2 separate regions of the Homo sapiens genome follow, and region 2 is linked to region 1. Evidence: promoter capture Hi-C in 16 types of primary human blood cells and fetal thymus (Javierre and others, 2016). All regions are on one chromosome and are shown on one strand. The core of a region is centred on a gene start or on the middle of the fragment in contact, and the rest is flanking DNA. Distances in the headings are between cores, read along the strand shown.

Region 1 (2,870 bases), core at 50-2,549:
CCAGATATTTTTTTGCCAAATATCTTAGACTCCTTTGTGTTGCTGTAACAGAATGCCACAGACTGGTAATTTATAATGAACAGAAATGTATTTCGCTCATGGTTCTGGAGTCTGGAAGTCAAAGAACATGGCCAGCATCTGATGAGGACCTTCATGCAGCATCATTCCATGGCAGAAGATAGAAGAGCAAGAGAGGATGATAGCATGTGAGAAAGTGCCAAACTTGATTTTATAAAAAACCCACTTCCAGGCCAGGTGCAATGGCTCACACATGTAATCCCAGCACTTTGGGAGGCCACAGCAGGAGAATCGCTTGAGCCCAAGAGTTTGAGACCAACCTGGGCAACATAGGGAGATACTGTCTATACAAAAAATGAAAAAGTTAGCTAGGAGTGGTGGCGCGTGCCTTGTAGTCCCAGCTACTTAGGAGGCTGATGTGTGAGGATTGTTTGAGCCTGAGAGGTCAAGGCTGCAGTGAGCTGTGATTGCACCAGTGTATTCCAGCCTGGGCAACAGAGCAAGACCCTGCCTCTGAAAAAAGAGAAAGAAACCCACTCCCACAGCATTAATTAATTCATTCATTCATGAGGGCAGAGGCCTCATGACTTAATCACCTTCTAAAAGTCCCATTTCTAAACACTGTTGCATTGGGGATTAAGTTTCTAACACATAAGTTTTGGAGGACACATTCAAAACATAGCACTAAATATTCATTGGGAACTCATGTACTTGGAATATCTACTGGCAAAAAAAAAAAAAAAAGAAAGAAAGAAAAAAGAAAAAAATTCCATATTCCGTGTTCCCATAATTGTGGTTTATATTTAGTGAAGCATCAAATGAGCATGAGATACAACTATTTTTTTTATTTACACAAAACTTGACCCTAAAATATTTAACCAACAGAAGTAGTACTAATAAAATTATTCTATGAAGTAATTTTTAATGAAGCTGAGTTTATTCAAGTCATGTCTTCTGCAAATAAAAATGGACACCAATAAACAAAAACAAAGATAGAAAGAATAACTGTGTTCTTGATATCTCCCCTAAAGTTCACAATCTCTACACCTGTTTCTTTCATCTTCTGGTGATGTTAATCTTCTGTTTATTTTGCGCTTTAAATCTAAGCACATGTGGATTACCCAGAGATTGCCCTCTGAAAGTCAGTCTACACCTGTTCTTTCTTACCTCACAAAAAGTAATGGAAAAAAAAGTGTGTGTGTGTGTGTGTGCGTCTGTGTGTGTGTGTGTCCTGTTGGTGGTAGTGTTGGTGGTTAAAAAGCAATTTGGGACTTCCTCTTTGAACAGTTGCCTTTTCCTCTCACAGAAGGAAGATTTCATTTTGTTTGAGACGAGAAACCAAACCACACACCAAAGAGAGGGGTATGATGGCTAAGAAGCCCCCAAAACCAGCCCCTCGCAGGATCTTCCAGGAAAGGTTAAAGATTACTGCTCTACCTTTGTACTTTGAAGGTTTTTTATTAATCAAGCGGTCAGGATACCGGGTGAGTCTATAGATGATAATGTTAAACCTAAGACTTCTGTTTTAATTTAATATTTATTTCATGGTGATGTGATGTGTTAAGACCTCCTTGTTTCTGTTGAAATTAAATCATCTTCTCTTCTTTGAGCTCAGAAAAATGATTCCAATTTTTCATAATTTAAATACAATGTCTGGCTTAAACCTGTATGTATACACATATATAATATGTATAATAACAGAGGTTGTAATATTAAGGCACTAATATAAAAAAGTCAATAAGCTAAATTTCCAAAGAATTTATTTAAATATCACAAAAGATTTTGGCTTGGGAGATAAAATGTTTCTTGTATTTTCTCCACAATTTATTGCTATGCTTCAATGATGACATGTACCATTAAGATAAAATGATATCATGATTAAAATTAAACCTGCTCCTGTTCTGAGTCATTTGAAGTTTATAATGATCAAATTATTAAAAATGGCTTTTGTAAAAATTGTTAAAATGACAAAGTTCATACTGTTTAACATTATATATAGTTATGTGTTCTAAAATACTATTCAAGATAGTGACTTTTAATTTTTGGGGTACTACTGTGGGTATTAAGTACACTAAGCTACATAAATACCTTTGCTCTAAGAAAATCCATGAAGCATTCTGTATTTTTAAATGTAATAATTAAAACTTATAGTTAGTTAAAATCATTACTTTTAAAACAGTAATTATGGATGACTTGAAATTAATTAGAGAAATAAGCCCAAAATTGCCTGTTATTAAATAAAAAAATCATTAAGTTAGGTCAAATTTTATGAAATTGTATACTGACTAAAACTAGAAAAATTTTAAGGTTTTCAGAAATTCCATCAGAAATGTTTAATGATGCTAAAATATATTTTCTGAGGATTTATGAATACTTGTGGAAAAATTATATATATGAAAAATCTATAATAGCATATTCACATTTCTTACATATATAATCAGATCATTTACTATTTGAGAGTAAAGACATGGTAATTTGTATTCTGTTATGGATGTTAAACATGCATAAATAATTACCTTTCAGTTATATTAGAATTTTTTAGATTGATCCTATATGCTTTTAATGTAAATTCAATCTTGTCACCACAGGTAAGCCACATAGTCACACTTTGCCAGGAAAGGGAAGTTGAGAAAAAAAAATTCTAATTAGTAATTTAAATCAGGTTGTTCATTGAATGTTTTCCAAGGTATTTATAATAACTGTTTATGATAGCAGTTTTTTTTAAATGCTTAAAGAAGACATGTCATTGGTATGGTTAGCAGAAAGAATAAGAATTTTAGAGTGTCCTTTATCTGATGGTTTTGCCACTTATAGCTTGTGATCTTGTGCAAGTTACTCAATCTCCTTGAGAC
Region 2 (3,001 bases), core at 457-2,956, 730 kb after region 1:
ATGGGAAGTCCCATGGACCAGCTCCCAAGTAAAACAGGAGTAACTAGTGATTTTTTTTTTTAAATAATTTGCAGTCTCTAAGAATTGTCCTAAGGACATACAACAAATAAAGAAATATGTGCTGAAGAAACTCCACTATTTCTTGGTGAAATTAAACCACAACATGCTCATTTGTCCACCTCCTAATTCATGGTAACAGAAACTCCATCATTCCAGAGAGGTATAAACAATACCACAGGGCTCCCACTTTTGAAGCTCCCAGTTGAGGACTATGGTATCTTGTTGGGAGGCAACGTTGCCCTGAATTTTTCATGCACATACCCAAGTATGTGTTACAGAGGCTAAATTCCAGGCAAGTGTGGCTAAGAAGGATCTCCCATATTCCATCCAGCCACTGTCATAACACAGATGTTCTATTCATGAACACTGAGTACCAAATAGCCACTATCCCAGTTGGAGATTCCATGAGAGGAGAGGAAAACTGAGAATAAAGGCCAAAGTAGAAATGCACCACTGTCCATGCCCCCAGTCCTATAGTCAAGGTCAAGACACTCTGCACAGGGGAGAGTCAGGCCATAAACACAGAGCTACAAATGTTTTCCCAAAGGAACTTACTTTATTTGAAACAGTGTGAAAATTGTAATCCTAAGAGTGCTCTGAAAACACGGAGGCTTTCTGGTAAATAATTAAGAGGAAGCTGTTAGCTTCAGAACACATAAATGCTAAGCCACAGGCAAACTAATTTATTAGAGGAAACCAAAGATACAGATTGAAAAAAATCTTCCTGGGGTCTGAGCAATGATCAAATACTGACCTCAAAAACTATCGCTGCAAAAGAATCACTGAATTTTATTGGATCAGACTGTGGAACAATTTATACTCTCAGGCCATTATCAAAAGTAATAGAGCACTCAATCAGCAACTTGTGAAGGCTAACAGCAGGGTTCAGCCGTAGAAGAGGCAGTCAAAGAATGTCCTCCTGCAACCACCATTATTACAGGACATGTGAGCATACCAAGGCTGCACCCTTGCATAGCAATATCAAGCTTAACACTGCAAAGGAAAGAGGCTTCGCTAAAATAGTCCATCTAGTCATCAGCCACAGATTAAAATACACAGAAAGAGGATATCTAATATCTACAGTTGCTACAATCTATTATCAAACATGTAGAGTTTTTAACACAAATTTAAATGACATGCTGAAAAGAAATCAGGAGAGTATGATTCCCACGTGAGGCAAAAGCAGGCAACAGAACCTGCCTGTTTAAGAGACAAGGTGTTGGATTTAATAGGCAAAACCTTCAAAATAATCATTATAAATATGTTCAGAGACCTAAAAGAAGTAATACTAAAGAGGAAAAGCAGGTATAGTAACAATGCAGTATCCAATAGAAGATATATGGAAAGTGATAGTAATTATATTTTTTAAAAAGAAGCAAATGGAAATATTGGAGTTGAAAACTGCAATAACTGAAATTAAAAAAAATTTACAAGAACTCAACAGTAGATATGAGATAGCAGAAGACAGAGCCAGCCAACTTGAAGGTAGGTCAGTAGACATTGTGTAACCCAAAGAACAGAAGATAGAAAATAAAGAAAAACGAAGACAGTCTTACAGAATTTTGCGACAATCTTAAGCATTTCAACATACACAAAGTGAAAGTAATAGAAAAGGAAAAAAAAGAAGAGAAGGGAACAGAAAAAAACTTACAAAAATAGTGCCTAAAGACTCTTCAAATATGATGAGACATTAATTTACAAAGGCCAGAAATACAACAAATTTCAAGTAAGATAAACACAGAGATCCAATCACAGAAACATCATAGAGAAAGACTGAGGGTAAAGACAGAAGATGGCAAAGAAACAAGAGAGAAACAGCTCATGACGTTCAAGGGCACTCCAAAATCATGAATAGCTGACTTATCATCAGAAACTATAGAACCCATAAGGCACTAGCATGTCATATTCAAACTAATGAAAGAAAAAATTCAACCTAGAACTTTATCTACCACAAAACTATTTTCCAAAACTGAAGGAAATAAAAAATAAAAAAAAAATACATTCCCAAGCCAACAAAAACAGACAACTTGTTGCTAGCAAACCTGTCTTATAAGAAACACTAAAAGAAGCTCTTCAGATTGAAACCAATTAAGCAAGCCTAATCCACACAATAAAGGAAAGAGCACCAATAAAGGTCATTATACAATTATAAAAGATAGTATAAATCTACATTTCTTCTCCTTTTTTCTTTGAACAAACTTCAGAAGGAAGTATATAGAGCATGTATACATACAGTCATATCGTTGGGCATATCACCTATAAATATACATGTCTGTCAATAACAGCACAAAAGAGATGATTGGGAGCAAAGCTTTGTTAGAGTAAGAAATGGCAACAAATAGCAACCTGAATCCACAGGAACGAATAATGAGAACCAATAATATTCTGATTTATCTTCAGATTGTATAAATCTTTCACCTTTCACTAAAGAGAACCAATAATGGTAAATAATATGATTAGTATAATCAAAGATAAAAATATATACTTGCTCTCCAAATTGTTTCCATTTCTAAAAAGACATACAATTATATAGTGTCATAAAAACAATGTAATGTTGTGTTGGTAACATACATAGATGCAATATCTATAACAATAATACCACATGTAACACAAAGAAATGATAAATGCTTAAGGGGATAGATATCCCATTTAATTTAATGTGATAATTATACATTGTATGCCTGTATCAAAATATCTCATATACCCCATAAATATATATACCTAGTATTTACTCATAAAAGTAATACTAATATCACAAAAATGGGAAGAGACTGGAACTATATGTGAATAATGTCTCTACAGAGGACAGAGATTTAAGTCAGTATAAATCTGAAGTTGATTCTGATAATTTACCATATATATCTGGTAAGCCCTAGAGCAATCACTAAGGAAATAACGATGAAAAATAGTAAAATGGAACATGTTCACTTAGTGCAAAGAA

Evidence for each region. Contacts are between HindIII fragments. The CHiCAGO score rates a contact against its expected background, and 5 or more counts as called.
Region 2: a contact is called between a fragment that was not itself captured here and the fragment with the promoter of STAP1 in region 1, in 1 of 17 cell types (total CD8 T cells). The highest score is 5.3, in total CD8 T cells.

What each region holds. Positions count from the first base shown.
Region 1 is chr4:67,557,428-67,560,297 of GRCh38, forward strand. STAP1 (signal transducing adaptor family member 1) reads left to right here and starts at 1,300. Exons shown (of 9, transcript NM_012108.4): 1 at 1,300-1,502. The coding sequence starts at 1,383. The HindIII fragment of the contact is 12,125 bases long and covers 1-2,870 here.
Region 2 is chr4:68,287,554-68,290,554 of GRCh38, forward strand. No RefSeq gene overlaps it. Among named protein-coding and RNA genes, the nearest start is that of TMPRSS11B, 43 kb to the left of the region's middle. The HindIII fragment of the contact is 1,325 bases long and covers 1,045-2,369 here.